2 separate regions of the Homo sapiens genome follow, and region 2 is linked to region 1. Evidence: promoter capture Hi-C in human tissues and cell types (Jung and others, 2019). All regions are on one chromosome and are shown on one strand. The core of a region is centred on a gene start or on the middle of the fragment in contact, and the rest is flanking DNA. Distances in the headings are between cores, read along the strand shown. Region 1 holds the start of SCGB1D4 (secretoglobin family 1D member 4). Region 2 has its middle 23 kb from the start of SCGB1D1.

Region 1 (7,031 bases), core at 3,309-5,808:
AAAAACCCTTCAAAAAATCAATGAATCCAGGAGCTGGTTTTTTGAAAAGATCAACAAGATAGGTAGACCGGTAGCCAGACTAATAAAGAAGAAAAGAGAGAAGAATCAAATAGGCACAATAAAAAATGATAAAGGGGATATAAGCACTGATCCCACAGAACTTCAAACTACCATTAGAGAATACTATAAACACCTCTATGCAAATAAACTAGAAAACCTAGAAGAAATGGATAAATTCCTGGACACATACACCTTCCCAAGATGAAAGGAAGAAGTTGAATCCCTGAATAGACCAATAACAAGTTCTGAAATTGAGGCAATAATTAATAGCCTACCAACCAAAAAAGTCCAGGAATGGACAGATTCACAGCCGAATTCTACCAGAGGTCCAAAGAGGAGCTGGTGCCATTCCTTCTGAAACTATTCCAAACAATAGAAAAAGAGGGAATCCTCTCTAACCCGTATTATGAGGCCAATATCATCCCGATGCCAAAACCTGGCAGAGACACAACAAAAAAAGAAAATTTCAGGCTAATCTCCCGGATGAACATCGATGAGAAAATCCTCAATAAAATACTGGCAAATTGAATCCAGCAGCACATAAAAAAAGCTATCCACCACGATCAAGTCAGCTTCATCCCTGGGATGAAAGGCGGGTTGAACATATGCAAATCAATAAATATAATCCATCACATAAACAGAACCAATGACAAAAACCACATGATAATCTCAATAGATGCAGAAAAGGCCTTTGATAAAATTCAACAGCCCTTCATGCTAAAAACTCTCAATAAACTAGGTATTGATGGAACATATCTCAAAATAATAAGAGCTATTTATGACAAGCCCACAGCCAATATCATATGAATGGGCAAAAGCTGGAAGCATTCCCTTTGAAAACTGGCACAAGACAAGGATGCCCTCTCTCACCACTCCTATTCAACACAGTATTGGAAGTTCTGGCCAGGGCAATCAGGCAAGAGAAAGAAATAAAGGGTATTCAAATAGGAAAAGAGGAAATCCAATTGTCTCTGTTTGCAGATGACATGATTGTATATTTAGAAAACACCATCAACTGACAAAGAAGTGTATTTATCTCTGTGGTTTACAATAACTTTACCCTTCACCTTTTATTTTTGGTGAAAAACCTGGTTAGTAAGCAATTTTAATTATGTTCCAGCTGTGGATCCTAGGACCCAGACAGAAGTGCAGATAAAGTCTGACTTTTCAGCTTCTAGCTCCATGAGTCCCAGGCCTTACCTATGTGTAAAGCAGGCAGTATATGACCTTGCAACATTTAGCAAACCTGGTATCTAAATTATATGATTTAGACAACCTATTTGCATTTTGATGACACTTGCCTTTTACTAATAATCCTTCAGACTATTTTTATTTCTTCAAGTCATGTGAACTAAAACATTTGATTGAAGCACTTATTTTTCTTTAAGCCAATCAATCAGAGCTCTTTTTATAGACATCACACACAGCACATATATAGCAACACTAAGAAACAGAAGATTCAGCACTTGTAAGATTTTTCACTTGGTAGTCTCTTAATTGGATTACTGGCTTTAGGGTGGAGCCCTTGAAGGAACAGGGCTATGTAGCATACCTAATAAACAGACGCAGCTGAAGGCAAAGGCAGATCCCTAAAATTAAGGGTGCCATTTTATACCTGATCTTGGGTCCCTAAAAGGAGGGAGATACTATGGGAGAAGACAGTGTAGTGGTTCTATCACGTATTTCACTGCAAGGGAACCCAAAGCCAATTGGCTTATTCTGTAATGAGCCCATTCCCCATGGGAGTCTCGTCTCTTAGTTGGGGGTGAGGATGTTGCCATATCTTTCAGGTGGCCAAGAGCACGCTTCTTTGATTATAACTACTATTAGCCATCCCTAACATTGAATTTTCTATCTAGTTATTACACACCGAAGCTCTCTCATAGTGTGAAGTAATTTGACACCCCCAAAACTCAAAATGGTAGATTACACAATACATAACAGAACAGAGCCTTTGATTTTGAGAAGTAACTGCTTTTAATTTTGGGGGTTTCATGAGGAAAACAGTTTTTTTTTTTTCCCCAAAATGGGGTCTGTGGTGCCTCCTCTGTTTTTCCCAAGGAGTCCCATGCTACCAGAAGTTATCTTAGGGCTTCTCATGCTTGCATTAAGAATGGTAAGATGAAAAATGGAGAAAAATAATTCAGTTGATTGAAAAGAAAAGAGCCTTTTTCCCAAAAAACAAGATTCAACAAGAGAAAAGCATAAAGACCTTTTCAATATACCTATAACTTGAACATATCCACTTTTAATTAAGCTGAGCACTTTTAAAGAAAATCCTTTTAAATTCCTTGTTACTTGAGATTGCTGCAAATGAGAGGTGCATGGTTCCAGCAGAGTCTATGAAGGGGAGTATTGAACAAGTCATCGGGGTCAGGCAACGATGTCCATGGATGGAAAGAATAAACTAAAATCTTGAGTCAATTGTGTAAAAAGGAGGGAGCCATAAAAAGCATCAATGATGAAAACAAAAAAACCCTGCATAGGTGTTAATCGTGGTAGGACTAATAAAAGTATACGCAAACAATCCTCTGTCAGAGATACACATGCTCCCCAATGGACTGTACAGATGACAAGGTGAATGTCAAGCCTGAGTGAGGATAAACTCTCATCCACAAAAAGGGTGGATGCTTCACAGACCTGTCTACTGCAAAAGAGGCCTCAGTCCTGAAGCCCATATTCATGGGTTTGCAGCCTCCAAGACCATGAGCTGGGTTTCCTTTTCCATTTATGTCAAAGAGAAATGGTGTATCTAGGTGTCCGTGTAGTTCTGCAAGTAGGTGATTTAGTGGATTTTGGCTGTGCTCTAAACTAGGAACTACTGGCAAACCATGACATATATGACAAATGGGACAAGATAATGGCAGTTTACATTGAGAACTACTATGTACCAGAACTTGGTATATTTTAAACACACACACACCCATGAACACACTCATTTGATCATCTATCAACCCAATGATGTAGGCACCATTAGTAGCCTACTTTGACAAATGAGAAAACTGGGGTTACATAAACTGAATAATTTTCCTAAGGTCCAGGAGCCCATAAATGAGGATCTGAACCCTCATAGCTGTAAACCTCACCACCAACCCTCCCCCTCCTTGGTGGCAGCAGGGCTGATTCAGGGACTCCGTCGTCATCCTGTGTGATGAAAGTGAGATCCACTGTTGCCCTCAGCTTGGACTCAACTAAATCTGTCAATGTGTCTTTGATGACAAAACCCGTAAGGTCCCCTTCCTTCTTAAAGGTTTTCCTGGCTGGATCTCAGCCCTGCTGTCTGTGAGAAACACCAGAGCAGTTTAAACAGTACAGAAAGGAGGGATTCACCCCAATGCTACTGAATCAAAATCGCCAGAGAGAGAAGCCTGTGGGGTCAGTATGTTTTAAAAGCTCCAAGTGATTTGACTACATAGCTGAGAATGGAAAGCTATGGCCTGGGCTGTGACTCCTCTCAAATGTAAGTTTATTTAAGAGAAAAATTTCTGGTGATTAAACTCACACCACATGAAGGCACGGCAATGGGAGGGAAGGCGGGTGTGTATTGCTTTGTCTGGGGGCTTCCTTCACTTTCCCTTAAAAATGGGATTGGCCCAGGCAGCACAGATAGGTTTGAAGTGGAAAACTTGAGCCTAGGGGTTAGGGGGAAGTGACCACCCACCCTGTTCCTCTGTCTCTTCCCTTCTATTATCTTCCCAGCCTAGAGCCCCACTGATGTATGATTGGCTCTGAACACTCCAAAAGCTCTTGAGAAAAAGAGTTAGGTTATTTAATCTTCAGATCAGCCCTAAGATAAGACGTGGGTGGCTACACATCACAGAAAGCTTGCTTTTTATAGATAGAAAATGTGAATCTTGGCCATATATATAACTGCACGTATAAACAAGATTCAGGTTTGGGAGTGAGGCAGGCTAGAGAACAGGTGCAGCAGATGTTTTTCCTCAGCATATCTTCTACAGGTGGGATGTATTCAACTATGTTTTCAGTACCTATGCAGTGAACATGGTGGTGATGGAAGGGGCTGAGGGGAAGGATTAGACTTTCCCAATGTGCAACTGAAACAAGCCTGCTTGTTGTCAGACATGCAGGGGGATCAAAGCAGGGTCTCCTTATGTCCCTGCTCTCCCATAAAGAGAACACAGCCTTCCAGCTTCCTGTGCCTTGTGAAGCCATAATTCACCTGTGCCCCTGCACTGCTACAAAGATAAAAAGAACTAATCAGCAAAAGCTCATAAGGAAATTGAGGATCCCAGGAACATTTCCAGATGTACCTGAACACTCACCTGGAGCACAGAGCAGAGTTCTCACAAGGCTGCTGTCTTGTGCTCCGCCCCACTCAGATGCAGAGATTCCTAAGGAGGTGACATTGATGGACGGCAGCAGCCCTGGCTTGGAAGGGCGGGCTGGGAGCCAGGCCTCATGACCTACCAGGTGCCCCGGTAGGTAGGACCAGCCAGGCTCCCTAGGTACAAATAGCCCTGGCCTCCATGACTACACAGGCTCCTGGAGTCGAATCCAAATCACTCATTGTGAAAGCTGAGCTCACAGCCGAATAAGCCACCATGAGGCTGTCAGTGTGTCTCCTGATGGTCTCGCTGGCCCTTTGCTGCTACCAGGGTGAGTACATCAGTCATGAGTCCAGCACCAGCCCCTGGGATGCACCCTCTTCTGAGCACAAGATCACCTATTTGTGCTTTGGGTTGGGGTCTGCACAAAACCAAACAAAATTCCAAACCCTTTTCTGTGCTTGTTGAATAAGATTCATAAAGGTTAGAGCTATTTCTTCTTTCTTCTTCCTTTTTTTTTTTTTTTTTTTGAGAAGTTTTGCTCTTGTTGCCCAGGCTGGAGTGCAGTGGCATGATCTTGGCTCACTGCAACCTCTGCCTCCGGGGTTCAAGTGATTCTCCTGCCTCAGCCTTCCTGAGCAGCTGGGATTACAGGCATGGGCCACCACAGCTGGCTAATTTTGTATTTTTAGTAGAGATGGGGTTTCTCCATGTTGGTCAGGCTGGTCTCGAACTCCCGACCTCAGATGATCTGCCCGCCTCGGCCTCCTAAAGTGCTGGGATAACAGGCATGAGCTACTGCGCCTGGCTGCTTAGAGCTATTTCTTCTAATCCCCAGTATCTAAGAAGTTTTATAGAAAAATCAGTTCAGGCAAATGTTAGGAATTCTTCTGCCTGAGCTTCACTTCTGAATGGGATCTGTGTCAGATGATGTAATGTGAGGTCTGGGGTGAACCTGGGCTTCGACACTTCCCACCCCTTGATCTTGGGCACAATGCTCACCCTCCTTGAGCCTCCTCTTATCACTGGTGGTTAAAGCTTCTGCCAGGAGTGGCTATGAGAATGAAGTAAGGTTATGGTTGTCAAGAGTCAAGCTGTGGGCCAGGCATGGTGTCTCATTCCTGTAATCTTAGCACTTTGGGAGGCCACAGTGGGCAGATCACTTGAGCTCAGGAGTTCAGCACCAGCCTGGGCAACATGGCGAAACCCCATCTCTACAAAAAAAAAAAACAAAACAAAACACACACACACACACACACACACACACACACACACAAAAGCGGGCATGGTGGCAGGCACTGGTAGTCTCAGCTACTTTGGGGGCTGAGGGAGGATCGCTTGAGCCCAAGACATTCAGGCTGCAGTGAGCCGAGATTGTGCCACTGCATTCCAGTCTGGGTGAACCTATCTCAAAAAAAAGAAAAAGAAGTCTAGCTGAGGATATGAAGCTCTTCCCTTTGTTGTGTGACCCGGAGAAAGTCACACCTGGAGTTTCTGGTATTGTCATCAGCACAATAATGGTATAGAAACATAGAACCCAGGGGATCCTGTCTGGTGTAACCTCAGGGAGCCATGAGAGAAAAATCGACTTTCCTAACATCAACAATATTTTTATTTTTGTGCTGCAGCCCATGCTCTTGTCTGCCCAGCTGTTGCTTCTGAGATCACAGTCTTCTTATTCTTAAGTGACGCTGCGGTAAACCTCCAAGTTGCCAAACTTAATCCACCTCCAGAAGCTCTTGCAGCCAAGTTGGAAGTGAAGCACTGCACCGATCAGATATCTTTTAAGAAACGACTCTCATTGAAAAAGTCCTGGTAATTTCTTTCTCCTTTATGCAGAGGCAGAATTCAACTCAGCTGCACACAGCCTCCTGCATGTTTCTTGTCAGGTCACCTGCCTGGATGCTGTGTCCCCAGAGTGTGCTGAGGACATGGGGAGTGAGCTAGGGCCAAGGCAGGGATGGTGAAGGGCCAAGCACGGCCGCCTCCCTGCTGGGATCTTTCCTGAGGTCAACCTACCCTCACGCAGTGGACACGGTCACTATGGGATGTCCCAGGGAGTGTGGGAGATTTGAACAGGGAGAGGAGGCTTGAGGGGACCTAGAGCTGGGCCTCCCACAGACAGGGTGCTGGTGAACTGGGCTCCTGTGCAGCTTCTGCAGAGCCAGGAGCCCCTTGCAGCTCCTCAGGGCCCACTATCCACTCCTCATCCATGACACTCTCCTGACCACAGCCAGTGGGCCAAGACTTTTTCGCTGCTCTACCTACTGCAACGCCACACAAGTGGGATGTTCTCACTATGTCTTTCTCAAGAAATCAGAGATTCCAGGGCCCTCTCAGCCTGGCTGCCTCTGGATTGTTGTCCTGAGGTTTGGCTGCAAATACCCATAGAAGCTGCAGGGTCAGGGCTGATAAGACCCCTGGCCGTTAGGCAGAATTCTCCCATGGGAAGACTGGAGTCTCCTGGAAGGTGTGTTTCCCAGAAGCCCTCCCTGCCCTGCCTGGCTTCAGAGCCCTGGGTCCCCCATTACAGGGATCAGGAGACTCCACAGACCTGGGACAGCCCAGACAACAACCTCTTGCTGCACTGTCAACCCCTCCCCTCCTCCTCCATGAAAACCCTGGGCCTAACTCCTGGGTCTTCCCAGGTCTATTGGTCTGGTGGGGAAAGGCTGCTTTCTCACC
Region 2 (7,031 bases), core at 1,425-3,924, 130 kb after region 1:
TGGGAACTCAGCAGAGTGGACTCCTAGGAAGAGGGTGAGAACTGCAACCAGGTGAACCAAGACTAGGGAAACTGCTTCTGATTATGCACAGGGGATAAGATCCAGCCCCTGGGGAGCGGTGGTTAACAACAAGTACACATCATGTAAGTGCCCCGGGCACCCCTTAGTGCAAGGGGAGCTATAATTCTACCAGAACACTCTGGATGTATACATATGTTCACACAAGACCTTCCTTGTGGATTAAGACAATATAACAGCAATTTGAGAAAGAAGGTGGCTCAGGGGACACTATCCCACACAGTGCAGACAGGAAATTCTGAGCGGTTTATCATTTGGTCAGTAGGAAGTCATCAGGAAGTCATCAGAAAGTCATGAAAGTCTAGAATCAGTGGCTTGCTCACCAGCTGTAAAGGAGACAGTCATGAGTTAGGGATCAATAATTGGTAATTATCAGAGATCAATAATTAGTAATTTGACAGAGATTTACCAGGGAGGAATCAAAATTCCCCACCTCTGAAGGGTGGCGGGGGGATATTTTTACTGTGTCTCAAGATCCTGCTGGCTCCTTTAAGCCATATGTGACATATTAATCATCTTTCCACATACAAACATGCACTTGAATGACCCCTCTAGAGTCATTTAAGGACAGGCTAGGGCCATTTTTAATATGCTAAAGAACAGAGCACTTTCCCAGGCTTAGGGACTGTGGATGGTCCCAGAGACTCCAATGGTCCAGGAAGTGGAAAGTCCTCACCCATGACACTTACTTTCCTCCCAGGACTGGAGGGCAAAAGAGGAAAACAAGAAAAATATGGAGAAAATATGAAGAAAAAACAAAAGAATGTGACAATTCTTGTTCCCAATTTTGAAACAACTTCACATATTCCTTAAAACAAAGATGACAACATAAAACTATAAAAAGGTATCAAAAACCTCACAATAAGGCTTTTCTAATTACTGGGGGAAATGGCAGCCATTCCTCCCGCAGCTGTGCTGCCTCCTCGTCCTCCTCCTCATTGTTGCTGCCAAAAAGGTCAATGTCATTGCCCTTGTCATCCTCTGCTGGTGTGGTTGGCTTCTTGGCCAGGGCTCCACTTGGCACATGGGAGACACGTGCTGGGTCTGAGGGACTGTGGCCCGGTGGCCAGCAGAGCTCTTCTCCAGCACGTTCAGCTGGGCCTCCAGCCTGGACATGGCCTGCTGCAGCTCCTGCACCACGCTGCTCAGCCTCTGGTTCTCCACTTCCAGACTGGCGATCAGGACAACAAGCTCGCTGTGTTCTCCGTTGGGGCCGCTGGAGACCCTGGGGCCTGAGCTTCTGGCCAGGGATTTCTGGATGTTCTCTCTGGCTCTCGCAATGTCATGGAGGATCACGCTGGCGCCATTCTTCTGGCGGGAGGTGCTGGCCACAGGCCCGTTCATTTGCTCGTACAATCTCCTTTCTGCAATGTCATATTTGAACTTGTCAAACCAGATCTTCTCATATACTGAGAAGTTTGTAGCCATTTTTCTGATGCCAGCCAAGGACTCAGCAACGAGGGAGGAGGAATCGGTGGACGTGGGACGCCTGAGGCAAGAGAACAGAAGACTTAATGTTGTTAAGATGTCAATACTACCCAAAGATTCAATGCAATCCCTATCAAAATCCCAAAAATGGTTTTTCCAGAAATAGAAAAAACAATTATAAAATCCATATGGAATATCAAGGAACCCCAAATAGTGAAAGCAATCTTGAAAAGACGGAACAAAGCTGGAGAACTTGCTACAAAGTGACAGTAATCAAAACAATGTGGTACTGGCATAAAGACAGCCATGTAGACCAATGGAATAAAATAGAAAGGCCAGAAATAGAGTAAAAATAGAGTTACCACATGATCCAGCAATTCCCCTTCAGGGTATACACAAAATAATTGAAAGCAGAGTCTCAAAAAAAGATTTGTACATCCATGTTCACAGCAGCATTATTCACAATAAAACACAGAAGCAACCCAAGTGTCCATCAACAGACACATGAATAATCAAAATATAGTACATACATACAAGGGAATATTATCTAGCCTTAAAAAGGAAGGAAAACTACATGCTACAACATGAATAAATCTTGAAGACATGTTAAGTGCAATAAGTCAGTTACATAAAAAAAGACAAATAACGTATGATTCCACTTATATGTATGTAAAATAGTCAAAATCATAGAAACAGAGAGTAGAATGGTGATTGCCAGGGGACGGGGGAGGGAGGAATAGGAAATTATTGTTTAATGGGTATAACTTTTCAGTTTTGCAAGATGAAAAGCACTCTGGAGATAGATGGCAGTAATGGTTGCACAAAATTACAAAATGTATTTAATACCACTGATATATACATTTTAAAATTATTTAAAAAAACGATTAAGATGGTAATTTTCATGTTTTGTGTATTTTACTGCAATAAAAGAATTGAACAAAGTAATGGCAATATTTTTTTCATGTGACAGCTTTTCACTTAGAGGGCAGGGCTTTTCCAAACAAATTAAAGTTATTAGGCAAGCCTGTGTGTCTTGGAGACTTTATTATTTTGTTTGTTTTAATAAATACAGACAGGGTCTTGTTATGTCACTCAGGCTGGTCTCAAACTGTGCCCGCCATTCTTTAGAAATTTTGGGAAATACAGGGTTGGGTGCAATGGCTCATGCCTGTAATCCCAGCACTTTGGGAAGCTGAGGCAGGGGGATCACTTGAGCCCAGGGGTTGGAGACCAGCCTCAGTGACATAGTGAGACCTCATCTCTACAAAAAATCAAAAAAATGAGGCAGGAAGATTGCTTGAGCCTGGGAGGTTGAGGCCACAACGAGCCGTGATCATGCCCCTGCATTCCCGCCTGGGCAACTGAAGTGAAACCCTGTCTCTAAATAAATAAATAAAATAAATTTGGGGAAATAAAGAAAAGCCCATAGAAGTCACCCATATACAACCAGTGTTAACTTGCTGGGCTCATGGGGTCAAGTCTTTTCCCATCCATCCAGACACAGATACCTGGATATCAGCATCTTGCTGCACAGGTGGGCTCATGCTCTGTGTGCATTGTTCCCTGGACAAGGCACAATGGCCATTCCCCCATCATGATAAATGTGCCTAACTCTTTTCTTCCCACCTCCATGTGCAAAAAGGTAGTTGAGTCAAGCAAAGCTTCTTTGAGGGCTCCAGAGCTGACTTCCCAGCTGCTACTGGTCCTTTTGGGTCCTCTCCCAGTGTTGAGACTCCTGATTTCAAGGACCCTGATTTCAAGGGTGCTGATTTTGAGGGTCTGAAGAAGTTCAAAGAGGAGGTGGATATCCAGCCAGCTAAGCAGAAAACAGCAACAGTCAACGGTAGTGAGCCCCTCTCTGCCCTTCTCTCTAACAGTGACATCCTGAGTCAGGGCTCAGTCCTGGGCAGAACGAGAGTCCTGGGCAGTTCCCAAGAGGAACTGGCCTGGAGGCCCAAAGGGCGGGATATCCACTTCACTGTGCCTTATCAATGTGCAGCTCAGGTATGAGAATCTGGTCATTAGGGCCTGACCAGTAAAGTTCCCAATATCCAAAGTTACAGAGCCCCGAAAGTCCCCCAGCTGCCTAGAGGTGCTTAGCAAAAAGTAAAAATAATACAACTCTGTGTTTGACCCTCACGTACTCTACAGCTCCTTTGGCCACTCCCTTTCTCTGCCAAACCCCAGGACCCTGTGTACCCCTGCTGTTCTCCCTGTCCCACCAGATCTCCCCTGGCCTCACAGGAACCTGACAAAAGGGAAGTGAGACAGGACAGATATGAAGAAAATGTGAAGTGATGGTTATTTTACACCTAGGCATCAAGAGACACAGTCGTTTGCTCAGCAGGTGGGATTTCTCCACATAGGCGGCAAGGAGAAACAATGCCGGGGTCCAGCATCAGAGACAAAGCTGGCAGAATTCACCTGCCCAGACCCCTCCTGCCTCCTGTTTCCCATTGGCCAAAGTTCACCCCATGAACTTCAATTCCCTGCACTTCTGGGACATGTCATCTGTACAGCTCCATCAGTGATACCAGATCCCACGTCCTGCGGCCAGGGACCAGAAACCCCGGGTGGGAAATAGCAGTCTGGGAGAGGGCCCTACTTTGCCAGGGCAAGGACTGGGAAGTCCCCACTGGCATCAGAAAAGTCTGGGTGCTTTTGGCCAACAAGAGGCAATGGAGGGAAGCCTCTTAACATTTCTGATGTCTTGACATGCGTCGTAGCAGGCTTGCCTTAGAGCAACACCTTCGAAGTCCAGTGGAGCTTCCTGCCCGACTGCACACTCCACACAACCTTGGGCTTGAGGTTGCTTTAACTCTTTGAGTGTCACTTTCCAGAGACTTAAAATGAAGATGAAGATAATATCACCCCTCAATCAGCAAATGCGATTGAAGGTTATGGCCAACGCAACTCAACTCGCCCAGTGCCTCACACACAGTAGGCACTTTGCGATTAAAGGTTGTCATCCATATTCCCAGACTATTCCCCGGGAAGTGGTTAGACAGAGCTGGACAACAAACCCCATCTCCTTGGCCCTGACACAGGGAGTGGCAAAAGGAGCTGTAGAGTCCACATCAGGGCCAAACACAGATTTTTATTATTTTTATTTTTTGCTAAGTGACTCCAGGCAGGTGGCGGACAATTAGGGGAGGTCCCTGTTGTAATTCCCAGCCCTGCCCTCCTACCCGAGGAATGAGAGAGGATTCCCTGCATTGCAGTCTGCATGTTGACCTCATGTAGACTAACACGCCTTAGTCTACTGGAGGGAGACAGAGAACACCCTGCATTCTCTGCCCGAGTCACTCTCCTCAATCTGCTTCAGTAGAACGTGAGACACAACTGTTGAAGGCCAGCAGCCCCTGGTCCCGAGCGCGGCAGTGCCACAGTGGATGCTCTCCCACCTGAGCCCTCGGACTGGGCCTCAGTGGGTCCTGCTCCCACAAGTGTCACTGTCTCAATCCGGAGAGTGGAGCTCGTAGGAACAGGACCTCATTGCCACATTTTCTTGGCCCCTTTCATTAAAAACACTGCAATCACCTTCATGGTAAGGCTCCTCCCTGTGGAGGTCTCCTACAGAAGTAGGTGAGGACTGGTTGCTGGGATTGAAGAGAGTGGCATGGTAGCTGAGGATAATAAGGGGTACTGGGGTAAGACGGAGAGGTTTGGGGGCCACACAAGTTGTCCATCTAGGGAACGTAGAGGTCACCTAGATCAAGCCAGTGTTGCCCAAGTAGCAAAAAAAAAGAAAAAAGAAAAAAAAAGTCTGGTCTTTTTTAGCCCCGAGAGGTGTCTTTGATGAAATTCTGACCAGATGAAGCCACCATCACTGCCCTGGGCTTACACATTACCTACATACCCTAAATCAATCACTGTCTGTTTTCTGTCTTTCTCTAAGCCATAGAGCCTGCTCTCTATCTGTTAAGTCTAGGGCCATCACAAACATGCAAACAATGACACTGTAAGATAACTTGGGCCAGGTGCAGTCACTCAAGCCTGTAATCCCAGCACTTTGGGAGGCGGAGGGTAGGTAGATCACCTGAGGTCAGGAGTTCGAGACCAGCCTGGCCGACAAACATGGAGAAACCCCATCTCTACTGAAAACACAAAAATTAGCCAGGCATGGTGGCGGATGCCTGTAAGCCCAGCTACTCGGGAGGCTGAGGCAGGAGAATAGCTTGAACTCAGGAGGCAGAGGTTGCAGTGAGCCGAGATCATGCCACTGCACTCCAGCCTGGGTGACAGAGCGAGACTCCTTCTCAAAAAACAAACAAACAAACTAACAAAACAAAACAAAACAAAACAAAACAAAAAACACCACATAAGATAACTGGGGCAGAAGGCCTCTAGCCCCTAGCCCCTAGCCCCTTTCCCTACCATTCCCGCAGTAGTGGCTGCACCCCTCCAGTCCTTTCTGCTGCACCCCCAGCACCTCTGGGGCACTTTCTGAGTTAAATAATTAGTTATAGGAGTCCTCACTGGGCATAATCCATACTTGTCTTATTACAGTGTCCCAGGGGCAAGTAGGACAGGAGCCCTGCAGAGGGCTCCTGCCTCTGTTATTCTCAAATCACAACTCAAAGACACTAAACACATTCCTCAAGATCCCTTACTCCAATTCTCAAGGACCAATTCCCCACTCAACCAATCCTGCCAGGCCAGGGGCAGAGCTGGCAGGAAGAATAGAGATCCAAAAAAAAAAAAAACCGTCATAGCTTTCATGGGTTATTAGCTCCTGTTCTTTTATAGGAGCTCCTATTAGCTCCTATTCTTTTATAGGTAGAATAGTTCACCTGAAATTAATCTGATACTATCAACTTTCCTATATCATAATAGCAGAGGAATGGGCATATTTAAAGTGCAAATTAATACAGGTAGGGGTATGTGTGTGTGTATCTGTGGGCAAGTAAGATTAAAGCTTCATGGATCAGGCAACCAAACCTGAGTCAAAGTATCCATCTTCATGTCAGCTGTTTCAGGCTTAATAAACTGCAATAAAAGCAAATACCCCCACAAAGGAATGACTACTTAAAAGGCACTTTAAAAGCCCCCCTGGCCGGGTGTGGTGGCTCACACCTGTAATCCCAGCACTTTGGGAGTCCGAGGTGGGTGGATCACCTGAGGTCGCGAGTTCGAGACCAGTCAGGCCAACATGGTGAAACCCCATCTCTACTAAAAATACAAAATTATCCAGGCATGGTGGTATGTGCCTGTAATCCCAGCTACTAGGGAGGCTGAGACAGGAAAATCACTTGAACTCGGGAGGCGGAGGTTGCAGTGAGCTGAGATTGCACCATTGCACTCCAGTCTGGGCAACAAGAGTGAAACTCTGTCTCAGAAAGGAAAAAAACAAAAACAAAAAAGAACTCCCCTTTGCAAGCTGTAGTTTACTTCCTCCTTCCAGCATGCAGGGTAGATCTCTTTGGTTGAGAACATTCAAAATTACTGGACAGGAGTGGGGATGTGGTTGGGGTTGGCCATGTAAGTTACTTTCTACTTTGCTGGCTCAGAGCAGTGAGCACTGT

The links. The method cuts DNA at HindIII sites, captures the fragments that hold promoters and counts their contacts. A contact is called where the count stands out against the background at its distance.
Region 2: a fragment that was not itself captured here is called in contact with the fragment with the promoter of SCGB1D4 in region 1 in 1 of the 25 tissues and cell types used here (H1 embryonic stem cells).

What each region holds. Positions count from the first base shown.
Region 1 is chr11:62,296,602-62,303,632 of GRCh38, reverse strand. It overlaps SCGB1D4 (secretoglobin family 1D member 4), which reads left to right and starts at 4,558. Exons shown (of 3, transcript NM_206998.2): 1 at 4,558-4,677; 2 at 5,975-6,161. The coding sequence starts at 4,623. The HindIII fragment of the contact is 5,452 bases long and covers 1,311-6,762 here.
Region 2 is chr11:62,163,768-62,170,798 of GRCh38, reverse strand. It overlaps the pseudogene EEF1DP8. Among named protein-coding and RNA genes, the nearest start is that of SCGB1D1, 23 kb to the left of the region's middle. The HindIII fragment of the contact is 4,245 bases long and covers 552-4,796 here.